Linked DNA regions of Homo sapiens: region 1 is linked to region 2. The links are contacts of gene promoters, found by promoter capture Hi-C in human tissues and cell types (Jung and others, 2019). All regions are on one chromosome and are shown on one strand. The core of a region is centred on a gene start or on the middle of the fragment in contact, and the rest is flanking DNA. Distances in the headings are between cores, read along the strand shown.

The links. Contacts are between HindIII fragments. The study calls those that stand out against the background at their distance.
Region 1: a contact is called between a fragment that was not itself captured here and the fragment with the promoter of VASH2 in region 2, in 1 of the 25 tissues and cell types used here (spleen).

The regions. Positions count from the first base shown.
Region 1 is chr1:212,420,160-212,427,158 of GRCh38, reverse strand. No RefSeq gene overlaps it. Among named protein-coding and RNA genes, the nearest start is that of PACC1, 8.8 kb to the right of the region's middle. The HindIII fragment of the contact is 6,505 bases long and covers 850-6,999 here.
Region 2 is chr1:212,948,464-212,955,555 of GRCh38, reverse strand. VASH2 (vasohibin 2) reads right to left here and starts at 5,015. Exons shown (of 8, transcript NM_001301056.2): 1 at 4,816-5,015; 2 at 3,738-4,217. The coding sequence starts at 4,013. RefSeq lists enhancers at 106-155, 4,310-4,359, 4,880-5,029. The HindIII fragment of the contact is 12,745 bases long and covers 2,403-7,092 here.

The DNA.
Region 1 (6,999 bases), core at 2,853-5,352, 530 kb after region 2:
CTGACCTCAGGTGATTCACTCGCCTCGGCCTCCCAAAGTGCTGGGATTACAGGTGTGAGCCACCACACCCAGCCCATTAACTCCTTTTTGAGCTGAGCTAGAAGCTGTTAGAGCCAGAGCCTGGGCTTCGATTACCTCATGCTGACTGGCAACAGCCTACCTGGCTCTCCAGTTTCCCTGATACATAAAACTGCCCCCATTTGTAAACCATTCTGTTTCAGGATTATCTAGTGGCTCATCTTTTAAGTCTGCCCAGCTGGAATAAATTTGCTCCATAACTTGCATGCAAGAATGATCTAGAGGGTCCATAGCCTCAGGCAGATAAGTAGCCAGGCTTAAGGTTTGGCATCCTTTAAGAGTAATATCAGGAGTGTCTAAACAATAAAGCCTGCTACTTTAATAAGCATATCTTGGTTATCTATAGGTGTCCTTTAGCTTCTAGAACCTCTTGTACTTGGTGTGGGGTCAAAAACTCCAGATGTTGCCACAAAGTTAATTTGTTAGCTTCATCTACCAGAATAGCAGTTGCTGCAACTGCTCTGAGACATCTGGGCCATCCTGAAGCTACATGGTATAATTGCTTAGAAAAGTATGCCACCAGTTAAAGGATATCTCCTAGTTTCTGGACAAGAATGCACAGGGCTGTTTGTTGTTTTTCAGCCACGTAAACGAAGACTGGTTTGTCAAGACTGAGGATTCCTAAGGCTGGAGATGTACTCTTAGAGAGTATTAAAAGCGTGTTTATAATTGTTATCCCATTCAGAAGGATCTGAGTCTGCTCCTCATAGAGCCTCATCTAAAGGCTTGGCCATATCCCAAATCTGGGTACCCATAAATGGCAGAATCCTGCCATCCCTAGGAAAGCCCGCAATTGTTTTCTAGTTTGGTGTTCTGGAACACCCAAAATAGCTTCTTTTTGTACCAGGGCTATTGCCCGGGTGCCAGGAGTTAAGATGTATCCCAAATACTTAACTTTTTGAGTTGAAATCTGGGCCTTGGCTTGGCGTAGGGGCTCACACCTGTAATCTCAACACTCTGGGAGGCCGAGGTGGGAGGATCACTTGATTGAGCTCAGGAGTTCAAGACCAGTCTGGGCAACACAGCAAAACCGTCTCTAAAAAAATTTTTTCTTTTTAATTAGCTGGGTGTAGTGGTGTGCACCTGTGGTCCCAGCTACTTGGGAGGCTGAGGTGGGAGGACTGTTTGACCCCAGGAGATGGAGGTTGCATTGAGCTGAGGTCACACCACTGCACTCTAGCCTGGGCGACAGAGCCAAACCCTGTCTCAAAAAAATAAAAAGAAAAGAAATCTAGGCCTTGTACAGCAAGACTCTATATACCCATTAGTTCTCAGAAAATTTAACAGTGAAATGGTGTTATTGTCTGAGTCCCTTTTGGTTGGCTAGCAATAAGCAGATCATTAAGTACTGAATAATGGTGCCCTTATCCAATCATAACATTTTAAATTCTTTAGCCAACGCATTTCCAAATAAATGAGGGGTATCTCCAAACCCCTAGGGAAGAACTGTCCAAGTTAATTGAGAAACTAAATGACTATGTGGGTCAGTCCATTCAAAAGCAAAGATGGATTGTGAATCAGGGTGCACCAAAATACAGAAAAAGGCTTCCTTAAGATCTAAGATTGTAAGCCAATTAGCACCCCCAGGGACCTGGGCTAACAGCCTGTAAGGATTGCATACTATAGGATGTATGAGAACAACAGCCTCATTGACAACCAGGAGGTCTTGAACAAATCTATAGTCTCCACTTGTCTTTTTAACTGACAAGATTGGAGTATTACAGGGAGACTCAGAGTCTCAGCAAACCAAACTGCAGAAACTTATTTATTAATGGCTGGATTCCTCTTTGTGCCTCTGGTCTCAGAGGGTATTGTCTTTTCCAGGGAATATGAGACACCAGGTTTGGTTTAAGTTAAATACAAACTGGAGGGGTATGTAATGCCCTCCCCAGAACTTAAATGTTCCAAACCATAGGATCTATTTGGGAGGTTACTACAACATGCAAGCTAGCTGAATCTCTATTAATTTTTCTCCATTGTCTTGGAGAGAAGTAAAAGCAATTCCTCATCCACCTTGTAATCTCTGAAAGAGTCTACAGTTTGAAGCTGAATTAATACATTTCTTCCCAAAAGAGAGGCAGGGCATTCAGGCATTAAAAGAAAAACATACAAAGCCATGAGACGAGATCGTGCCACTGCACTTCAGCCTGGTGACAGAATGAGACTCTGTCTCAAAAAAAGAAAAAAAAAAAAAAGAAGAGCAGCTTATAGGATGCTAAAACAGCACCTATGAGCTTGTCCATTTATCCCTGTGATCATACAGTCTCGGGATGATAAAGCCTCTTCATAATGTGCCAAAACAGAGCAAGCAGCCCCTGTATAGAGAAGGAAATTAATATTCTTACCTGCCACTTCAAGGGTTACCCCAGGATCCTCCAGATACATGGTTTTGTTGCCCAATGAGAGCTGTGGCAGAAGGTCTTGAGCCCCATCACTCTTGGCCTTCAGCACCTAAACTAAGGATGTCTGAGCAAACCCGAGAGTGAGTGGTGCGCCTCTTCCTAATGGCCAGTTGTCTTACAGCAAGCACATTAATTTATATTCAAGTTGCGGTGATCTGGAAGCCCAGATTGGGGCTTTCTGCCTTCTAGCTTCCCTTGCCAAGGCTGAGAAGTGTAAGGGCAACCCCCATATGTGTGGCAAGCTTAAGGCCACAGCTAAGAGCTGTTCCTTTTGAGAAGCTGTCTTAAGTTTTTCTGCTTTCTCTGTCTTGTCCTTGTTATTAAAAACCATAAATGCCGTGTCCCAAAACTGGTTCATAGTAGTCTGGGGAACCAAGGCTGCTTTTTTTGCAGTTTCCAATGGATATCAAGGGCAGACTGGATTATACAATGTACCCCTAATCAGGTTTGTCCTTTTGAAGTGGGATCAGTGTATTTCCTAATTGCCTCAATTGTCCCTGAAACAAAGCCAGATTCTCATCTTTACCTTGGGTAACTTCCTTCACGTTATCATAATTAACATGTTTTTTCGTACATGTGTTTATCCCTTCTAATAAACAAGTGATCATGTGATCTCTCTTCTCAGTCTTCACTATTCCTTTGATCATTCCATCCTCGATTTTGATCAGGAACTGCAATACCCCCAACCCTGTAGATAGTATGATTAGAATTGTGGGATAGCATTTCATCTGCATGTGTCCTAGCTATTTCCAAAATCCACTGTTTTTCTTCCACTGTACAGCAGGTGGATAACAAAATATGCAAATCCTGCCAGGTTAAATTATGTCAGAGTTAGTTTCTCAAACTCATCTATAAATTTTCCTAGGTCTTCAGAGAAACAACCAAATTTTTCTTTGCATAATGCCAAATCAGACATAGAAAAAGGGACACATACCCTTATAGTGCCCTGTTCCCCATTTACCACTTCTCTAAGCAAAGATTTTCCTTTGAAAGTTGCTAAGAGGCTCCACTATGGGTAATACAGGTGGGGCTGGGTTCCTCAGGGAGTAACGGGTACAGAATAGGACTAAGCATCTCAGAAGGAGGTAGATGTAAAATAGGGCTAGACGGGTAAGGAGGATGAGATGAAGAGGTCTCAACAGAACTACTAGAAGGGCTAGAAGGGACAGGGGCAGATGCACCTGAAGCATTGGAACTGACCAAGGCTTGCATTGAAAGATCATCTAGAATATCTAATTAGTTTTCCTCTTTTATTTTCATTAAATATGCACATGCTTGTTTTAAAGTTTTATCCTGACTAAGCAATAGAAATGTTTGAACATATGGTATTTCACCCCATTTTCCCTCCTGCTTGCAAAACAAATCAAGTTGAAGTATAACTATTAAAGGCTGTAGTTCCATTAGGTGGCCATTTTTCTTGACTTTCCAAATAACATTATTATTATTTGGAATAATAACATTATTATTTGGCCCTATTAGGGCCAAACAATATTACATAAAAATAAACATTTCTTTTTCTTAAGCCCACCTAATTTAAATTGGTCCCAATGCTCTAATATGTACCCTAGTGGTGAGCTTTTTAGGATTAAGGCTGTGTTACCCATGAAGGGAGCAGGTAAAGGTGAAAATAGAGATCATTGTGAATAAGGTTGTACTGCCACTGGCCAAGCTCCACTAAAAAGGATGAAAGAGCTTTCAGAGCCAAATGAGCAAGGGAAAATGATCCTGTGATCACTTTTTTTTTTTTTAATAAAAATAGAGGCGGGGTCTTGCTATGTTGCCCAGGCTGCTCTTGAACTCCTCAGCTCAAATGATCCTCCTGCTTTGGGCTCCCAAAGTGCTAGGATTACAGGTGTGAGCCACTATACCCAGCCCCCATGGTCACTTTAATTCAGCTATTCATATTACCCAAATAATGAGTTGGGCCATTTGCACTAGAGAGACCACAATAGGGGACTTGACAAAGAAATGTCTCATTAAGCAAGGGAAATGACACAGACCCGGGAAGGAATGTCCAGGCTCAGGACAGTGATGGCAAGCAGGGTGAAACTTACATGGTCTTGCTGTCCGTAACCAAGAAGTAAAAGTCATTTGATTAGTGAGCAGATGAAAAGGAACTGCTAAAAACAAATCTCCAATTCCCTATTCTATAGCTGTTTGTCTACATGGGACTGGCATAATTGCTGCCTGGCTCAATCATACACCCTGGAATTTTTCATTTAAAATTTGTAAGTACTGGCTGGGCGCGGTGGCTCACGCCTGTATCCCAGCACTTTGGGAGGCCGAGGTGGGTGGATCACTTGAGGTCAGGAGTTCAAGACCGGCCTGACCAACATGCTGAAACCCCGTCTCTACTAAAAATACAAAAATTAGCCAGGCATGGTGGCACACACCCGTAGTCCCAGCTACTCGGGAGGCTGAGGCATAAGAATCACTCGAACCTGGGGAACGGAGGTTGCAGAGAGCTGAGATCACGCCACTGCACTCCAGCCTGGGCGACAGAGCAAAACTTCATCTCCAAATAAATAAATAAATAAATAAATAAAAATTGGAAGTACCAAGTTTCAATTTTGAGAGAAGGGGAGGCAATAAATAATTCATGTAAATGGGCTACATATAGGGAAAGTAAATCTTGCAGAACCATTCATCCCCAATGTACCTTAACAGGATGCCGGAGCAGACAGGCGAAGAGCCGATAATCTGAAGGCAAATGAGGAAAGTGAAAAGTTAAAAATATCAGGACTGGTCAAGTGAGGCCTGTGAAAAACAGCAGGAAAACACAGCAGTAAAACATAGACAGCAATCAGGAAACTGGCAAGTAGCAGCCTTTAACGAGCAGCCAAGAGTGCAAGGAGGGCTAATCCAAAGGGAGTAATGGTTAATATCTCGTCACACTGAATCCATATCCAGCTATGAGGATGTGGAGGGCCTCCAACCCTTCCTAGTTGGACCTCTAACCAGTTTTAGACAAGTACCCCGTCCTTTACCACTATAAAAATATATTCCACTACTTACCCAAAGTTGGCCAATTGGTGCTGCACAGTGTATTTCCTCTGGGTTGGAGGGTCTCACCTCATTAAGGTTCCAGTGGAGATGCAATGGGAAAATGTTACCAGAAAAGGGGTCTCATCCAAGAACCCAAGAGCAGGTTCTTGGCTCTTGCAGGGAGATAATTCAGGGCAAGTCACAGAGTATAGTAAAGTTTAAATAGTTTATTAGAAACCACTCTATTACAGAGTAGGGCATGCTCAGAAAGCAAGAGGAGGAATGCCTCTACCTTAATGTAACGCTTGCTTACATAGGATATTAGGGCTAAGAATAGTGTACTTTATTATAAAGTCCTGTGATCAGCTTGTGACAGGATATTAGTATTCATGTTCTCTTGTGTAACTATTGATTTCAGCGAGAATTTATGGGTGTACTATTAATAGCATCATTAGAGTAAAACCCATTTTTAAACTAAGAATGCCTTTTTCCATTAACTTGTTTCCTCAGCCCTAGACATCTTGTGATAAAGAGTGCCTAACTTCCTGAGAAAGTCACCCAGCAGTTTTTTTTTTTTTTTTTGGCTTTATATGGCCTTTATTCAAGATGGAGTCATTCTGGTTAGGACACCTGTGACAGAATAAGTTTAAATGTTAATGGAATAACTCTGGCTGAAGCCGGGAGGCTACTGCAATAATCCAGGTGGGAGATGATGGCTGCTTGGACCAGGGTGGTGCCTGGGGATGTGGTGAGAAGTGGTTGACTATGGATATGTTTTGAAGATGTGGTTGATAGAATTTGCTGACAGATGAGACTTGGGATGTAAGAAACAGAGAGGAGTCAGAGGTGAGTTGGAGGTTGTTGCCCTGAGTAACTAGAAAGATGGAATTGCCATTTATTGATATAGGAGTAGGTTTTGGAGGAGAAGATCAAGATCAATTTGGGGCTTGTTCAGTTTGTGATGTGTGTTAGACATCTAACTGAAGGTATCAAATTGGCAATTAAATATACAAGTCTAGAATGAGGGGAGAGTTCTGGGCTGGAGATAGAAATTTTGGAATTCACTGGCATAGGTGTTGTATGTAAAGCCACAGGAATGGCTGAGATCGCCAAGGGAAGTGCATGTGGACAGAGGGGACTGAGCTCCTAACATTTGGTGGTTGGTAGAACTGGCAAAGGAGACCAGAAAAGGGCTCACTGTATGCCAGGTACTGGTTTCAGCACTTTGATGTTTATAAGCTCTTTTAATCCTCACTTTAACTCTGGGACATAACTATTACTATGTCAGGGGACCTTAAGTACCTCACGTAGCTCTCACAGTAGGTGACAGAGCCAAGTCAAGCACAGGCCATGTGTCCTACAGCCTGCCATAACCACCAGGCTATCCTTCCCCCCAGCGACTATACCAAATGTTTATACTTTTACTTATTTAACAGGATGGGTTTCTAGTGCAGAGTGACTTAAACAGGATCTGTGTGCATTAACTTTACTCTGAATCTCAATTTCCACATTAGTAACATGCCAGCCTGCCTCT
Region 2 (7,092 bases), core at 3,766-6,265:
ATGCCCACTGTTTTCTTCTGGGCTGGCCACTCTCTCTGAGCCTCGCTTCCCATCTGCTATTATCCTCCAACTGACTCTTGCTGTTTCCTTAAAGTCTTTCTGAAAAATCCTGCCTTTGACCTCGTCAACTGCTAACTTCAGACTCAACAACCTCCAGGGGAGAGGCCTGCAGTCACAAATTTAGAAGGAGGATCTCAAAGCAGGGGAATCCCTGCAAGATGGGGATATCTGGACCTTCAGGCAGAAGTTACCATGGCTGCTAAGGGAATGTCCTGTAGTCAAATGAAGTGTCATTTAGTCCTCCATGCAGGCCCTTGAAAACCTCCCCCATCTACTTCTTTTGCTTCTTAGTCTACATTCAATGGCCAAAAATGGTTAATCCCCCTGAAGCCTGCCAAGCTTTTACCACCGCCGCCACCCTACCACCCTTCTTCTGTACAAATTCCTCAGTAAGATATTGATTTGGTTGATGGAGAAAAGGACTTGACCCCAGAGGAAAGAGTCTGCCATGCTGAGCACAGAAACAACCCTCTAATCCGAGAGGAGTGGCCCCTGGAAAAGGGAGCTTTTGAGGCTCTTCCCATGTTAAGGCCTAGGCAGGGGTCAGGGCTTGGGGAATGTCAGGACCAGGGGAGATACCATGATAGGACTGGGGATAGAGAACCAACCATTAAGATGCAATGTGAGAGAAATGTTAAGTTCTTTATATTTAGGGCCAAAAAGCTGACTGTCCACATTTGGGCTGGGGATTCCTGGCTTGGAAGCAGTTTTCGCGTAACCTTCTAGTTACTATGAAAAGTACAATATGATGTGGCCACTGTGTAAAAAAGGGAAGACCAGCTGGGCGCAGTGGCTCACACTTGTAATCCCGGTACTTTGGGAGGCCGAGGTGGGCAGATCATGAGGTCATGAGTTCGAGACCAGCCTGACCAATATGGTGAAACTCCATCTTACTAAAAATACAAAAAATAGCTGGGCATGGTGACATGTGCCTGTAATCCCAGCTACTCAGGAGGCTGAGGCAGGAGAATTGCTTGAACCCGGGAGGTGGAGGTTGCAGTGAACCGAGATCGCACCACTGCACTCCAGCCTGGGTGACAGAGCAAGACTCCATCTCAAAAGAAAAGGTAACACTTTCTTAAGAACACAGCATTCAGCTACAATAATGGAAAAATCAGGTACAGGTCTCAGGAAGTAGCAGTCTGTGTTCTAAACTGCTCAGACATGATTTAGAAGCCTGTGTTTCATATGTGCTTGCAAATGACTACTGACAAACTAGGAATTGTCTCAGAAGGAGGAGGGTGAGTTGGTCTGGGAGCTATGACATATAAGAAAGGGCAAAAGGCCAGATGCGGTGGCTCACACCTGTAATCCCACCACTTTGGGAAGCCAGTGAGGGAGAATCGCTCGAGCCTAGAAGTTTGAGACCAGTCTGGGCAACACGGTGAGAGCTTGTCTCTACAAAATTTTTTTTTAAGTTAGCCAGGTTGGGTGGTACGTGTCTGTAGTCCCAGCTACACTCAGGAGGCTGAGGTGGGAGGATTGCTTGAGCCTGGGAGGTTGAGGCTGCCGTGAGCCATGATCACACACTGCACTCCAGCCTGGGTGACAGAGGAAGGCCTTGTCTCCAAAATAAGAAAAAAGAAAAGAAAAAGGGCAAAAGGAGCTATCTGTGGACAAAGAAGGCCAAAGGAAGAAGCAGAAGCAGAATGATAGAAAAAGTCACAGTCCTGAGGGCTCATAGTCTAGCAGACCTCTAGCATCACACAGATCAGCATTAGTGACCTGGAGACTCACGGGTCATAACATCATGAGATTTTAGAGCTGGAAAGAACTTACAAAGTCTGGTCTATTCCCATTTTATAGATGAGAAAACTAAGGACAGAGATTTTAAGTGAATGACCTCACTTAAGTGAGGCACAAGGCTAGATGTCATACAACCAAGACTAGGATTCAGTTCCTTGATTTTTACTCCAAGTCCCTTCCATCCTAAGAGCACTCTCTCATAACATTCAAGGGTGCTGTGAGTAGCAAAGGAAGTTGACAATGCTCTGCCCTGATTCAAAAGGCAAGAGGAACACAACAATCAGTGATGAAATGTGATTTGCGGGTGGGAGGGTGCTGCGAGGAGGATTTATGGTTGGTCTAAGAGCTTCCTAACAATCGACTCTGGCCAGGCCTAAGATCAGCTGCCCTGGGAAGCAGCAAGCTCCCCATTCCCAAGAGGTCTTCAGAAAGAGGAGGGGATTCTGTTGAGAGGTGGGAGACTGGTCTCTACAAACAGCAAAATTCCATGATTCCCACATAGAGAATGCACCCCCCCCCGCGCACCCGCATACATGGTTGGAGGAAGGATAAAAGCACAATTAGAGGCAGGGTTGGTACGGGTGCTACTAAGAAAGGCAGCATGGGACAGTAGGAACAGGCGTTTTTTTCCTTGTGGTCACTTTTCTTCCAAGTTTAAGGGCTCTCGGCTCCTCACTGGAGGAAAAATTCTCAAGTCAGAACTGCAAACCAGGAACAAAGGTTGTTCTCATATTCAAGAACTCAGCAAGGGTAATTATGGTTGACACTAAAGCAGGCAAGATTCTAGTTGGGCACAATGAAGATCTCCTTGACCAGCAGAGTAATAGAACACTGTAACTGACTGCAGCAGGAAGTTTAGAGGCTCTGTCACTTCTCCAAGGACACACACAGCTTTCTGGCCTGCAGGCTCAGATGCTCAGCTGTCACCAGGCTGGGGAATCAACCAGATGGCCTTCCGGGTCTCAAGTCTGGCATTCCTAGACCTGCCCAGGAATCTTCTCAGCCGTACCAGCGTCCCCAGGGTCCAGGGGAAACCATCCGCCACGCTATAACCCCGAGGCTCGGCAGCATTTCTCCCCAGTTTGCATTTTGATGTTTCATATAACGTATCTACTCCCACCAGGGTACATCTCCCTCCCTCGGTAAAGATATCCTTAGCCACCAAACCCAAATGGCTCACTGGCTTCTCTCCAAGGCAAAAAGAGAGTTTCACTCCTCATCCTCTTTTTCTATCCAGTGAGACTAATTCATCATGTGTACTGGAAAGTCCCTTTTAAGTCTCAGCCAAAAGTCTTTCTTTTTTCTTGGAGCACAAATAAGCTGGGAAGAGAGAGAGAGAGTTCACCGTTTTGCAAGTTTCAGAGGTGAAAGTCACTGTCACACACACACACACAAAAAAACCAGAAAGAAAAGAAAAAAAACTGGCAAAAAGTCTGGAAATTATTCACACTGAGAAGTCTGACTGGTTGATTTCAAATTCATTCACAGCTTAATAAATCATTTGCTGGGGGAAGAGGGGAGCAGAGGAGGAGCAAGACACTCCAAAGAGAACAAGCAGGGTGGGATCCCTGGGGTCTGTGCATTCTTTGGCATCGCTGGTACCTGGTGGCTCTAGCTTTTGCTGAAGGAGGATGTATGTGGGGGTGAGTAAATAATAGAGTTTGGCTGGAGCTTCAAAGACACCTTGGCACAATCCAATTACACAGTCCCAGGATAGCAAGCCCGCTACCTCTCCCTTCCCCATTTCTTAGGCTTCCAATCTAAATATCTCAATTAGAAAAGGGCTGGCAGGAAGGAATGGGGAGAGGAAGGGAGTTTGTAGCAGGACTAGGAAAATGGAGATTGCCTGTGTTTGCTATGTATAGGCTGAAACGGTCCCATCGCTGCCTACCTACCCCCAGCCCCCCAACTCCGCCCTGGAAGCCACTGACCTTTGCCAAGAAGGCGGCGTTCCTGATGGCGCCCACCATTTCTCCCCCCTTAGGGTGCACCTTGGCCACGTGCATCCACATGCGCTCCCAGGTGTGGCTGTCGATGGGGAAGCCGCTCTTGTTGACGTGGAACAGCACCCCGCCGTCTTTGTCCTCCTCCTCTGAGCCCCCGCTGGTGGCGAGGCTCACGGGCCGCGCGTGGCTGCTCCGGGACCGGGTGCCTTTGGCGCCTTTGGGGTGGGGGCAGCGGTGAGTGTCGGCCGCGGAGCCGGTCATGGTGGGGCCTGGGCGGGGAGCGAGGTACTGGGGGCGCGCGGCGGCGGCAGCGGCGGCGGCGGCGGGGGGCGTGTGCGCGCGGGCGCGGCGAGGGGATCAGCGCCCCGCGGGGGCGGCCTTCTCCATGCCTCTCGCTGCGGCAGGACTCACCAAGGGGGAGCGGCGGCGGGAGCTCCGCGGAGGCTCCCTGCTTACCGGCGGTGCCTGAAATCAGCGGAGACACAGCTGACACCACAGCTAAGTGGACGCACAGCGGAACCGAGTGAGGGGTCCCGGAGTGTCTCCACGACACTCCCCGCTCCCCCCTGCACGCTGACAGCCTCCCTGAGAATCGATGACGGGCTTCCAGCCCTGCGATTACCTAGAAAGGCAGCTCAAAATGTGCCACGAAGCTTCACACACACCTAAACCCGGGGGGTTGGGGATGGAGGGGCACAAGGAGCTTGGGGGATGCGGAGCGCAAGATGTGGGGAGAAGAAAGACAGCTTGTGTAGCATGAAGGAACAGGAGGTTCCCGCAAGGCTCCACACATTCCTGGGTCCTCAGATGTGGCCAAGAGAGGAGGGGAGCCACGAACGTGCTGGCATGTGAGCGCCCAGAGCTGGCGCGAGGGCGCTGCAGCAGCCTTGGCTTGCAAGGCGGCCCGCTTTCTTCCAGGAAGCCCTCCCGGACCCCGGCGGGGATCTAGTGGAAAGAGCTCCATCCGCCCCCTTTTCCCCGAGTTCCAGCGCCTATCACCGGGAGGGACTGGCTGCAGGCGGGCGGCGCGCAGGAAGGGCGCGCGGCAGCTCCAAGATCCTACCTCGGGACGGTTGGCTTCATGGCTGCAGAGCCTCTCCGGGCGGCGGGAGAGCAGGGGCTGCTGCTGCTGCTGCTGGGCCTGGGGCTGGGGCTGGGGCTGCTGGGGCTTGCTGGGGCCGTCGCCTCATTCCATGTCCCATTCTCGAATGTTATTCTGTGACATATAACCAAGTCACCCGGGCAGCCGCCGATGTTCCGAATGCGTCTATTGGCCACCGCAACAAAGAGGGGCGGGTCCCGGGCTCGGGACTCTACAACCCCGGGCTCCGCGACGCTCTGATTGGCTCCAGGGGTTCTCTGGCGGGAGGGGACAGGAGTAGGGGGAGCCTGGCGGCCACGCGAAATCCGATCGCTGTGGTGTCCTGAGAGCCCCGCGGGCTGGAGCGTTTGGCCATGGGACTTAAGATCGAGTTTCCCCAGGGGTCGTGGCACTTCGAGGGTTTGCAACTGTGGAAGCAGAGGAGAAACAAAACCACCCGAGAAGTGACCCCGCGGAAGCAGAGGGTTTGGCATCAGAAGAGCATTCCCTGAGGGACGCTGGACACACTTACCTGCCTCTACCCGGGATGATGAGTTGTTCATCCTCTACCTGGGATGATGAGGGGCTGTTCATACCTATGCGTGAAATTAAATCTTTTTTAAATCCCGCATTTAAAAATTCCTCAAAATTAACAAGTGGGTGCAGCTTTGGATCCTCTGGTATTAGTCATGGTTAATAAAGTCCCTTTAAGCCCAAGTTGAGAGGAGACAATAAAACTCAAGAGGTCAGGCAGGCCCTGACTGTTCTGCCACAGCTGTTGAGTGAGAGGAGGGATGGAGAGATGCTTCCAAACCATGGTGAAGTGGGTGGCTATCCCACACTCACTACTGAAACACCTTCTCTTTCTTTTTCTTTAAGAAAGAGGAGAGCAGGTTGAGGTGGGAAGAGCACCAGACTGCTGACCTGAAGGCTGGCTCCTGGTCCAGGTTTGTCACTTTGCTCAGCTGTGTGACCCTGGACAAGCCACTTCCCTGCTCTGGGCCTTAGCTTCTCTTTCTGAAAGGAGAGCAGACCTCCCGCTCTCCAGGGTCTGTTCTGGCTGTAAGGTTCTGTGATTCCCTGACTTCCTCTCTTGTGACACTGAGGATCCTGGCCATAGCATCCTTTCTCTTTAAACTGCAGGCCAGCAGGCCAGCTCTGAGCAAAGCAGTTATGAGACCTATGCTAAGTGAACCTTGAATTAAGAAGACAGTTGTCAAAGTGCCACTGATGGCGGGTCAGTTTCTGGATGCTTATCCTGACAAGTTGCCTGTCATGGAACTGGAACTTCTCTTCCACAGGAGGGCAGAGACCCCTGAGGGGTAGTTGAGAGCCAGGGCTTGGGTGAGGAGACCTGGATTCTGGACTTAGCCCTGCACTGCTCCCTGAGACAGAGCCCATGCCAAGAACTTTATAGATTCAATAATGAGAATAGGGCAGACGTGGTGCCTCACACCTTTAAACCCAGCACTTTGGGAGAAAGAGGAGGAAGGATTACTTGAGGCCAGGAATTAGAGACTGGACCAACATAGCGAGACCTTGTCTCTACTAAATAAATATTTTGAAATTAGCCAGATGTGGTGGCACACACCTGTAGTCCCAGCTACTCAAAAGGCTGAAGTGGACATGTAGAATGAAACTGGATCCTCGTCTCTCACCTTACACAAAAATCAACTCCAGATGGATCAAAGACTTAAGTCTAAGACCTGAAACCATAAAAATTCTAGAAGATAACATGAGAAAAACACTTCTAGACATTAGCTCAGGCAAAGAAATCATGACTAAGACCTCAAAAGCAAATGTAACAAAAATGAAAATAAATAAATGAGACCTAATTAAACTAAAAAGGGTCTGCACAGCAAAAGAAATAATCAGCGGAGTAAACCGACAATCCACAGAGTGCGAGCAAATATTCACAAACTGTGCATCTGACAAAGGACCAGTATCCAGAATCTACAAGGAACCCAAACAGATCAGCCAGATAAAACCAATCCCATCAAAAAATTGGCAAAGGACATGAATAGACAATTTTCAAAAGAGGATATACAGTCAACAAACATATGAAAAAATGTTCAACATCACTAATTATCAGAGACATACAAATTAAACCACCATAAGATACCATCTTACTCTTGCGAGAATTGTCATAAAAGTCAAAAAATAATAGATTTTGATGTGGATGTGGCAAAAAGGGAACATGCATAAAACTGCTGGTGAGAATGTAAACTAGTACAACCACTATAGAAAACAGCAAGATTC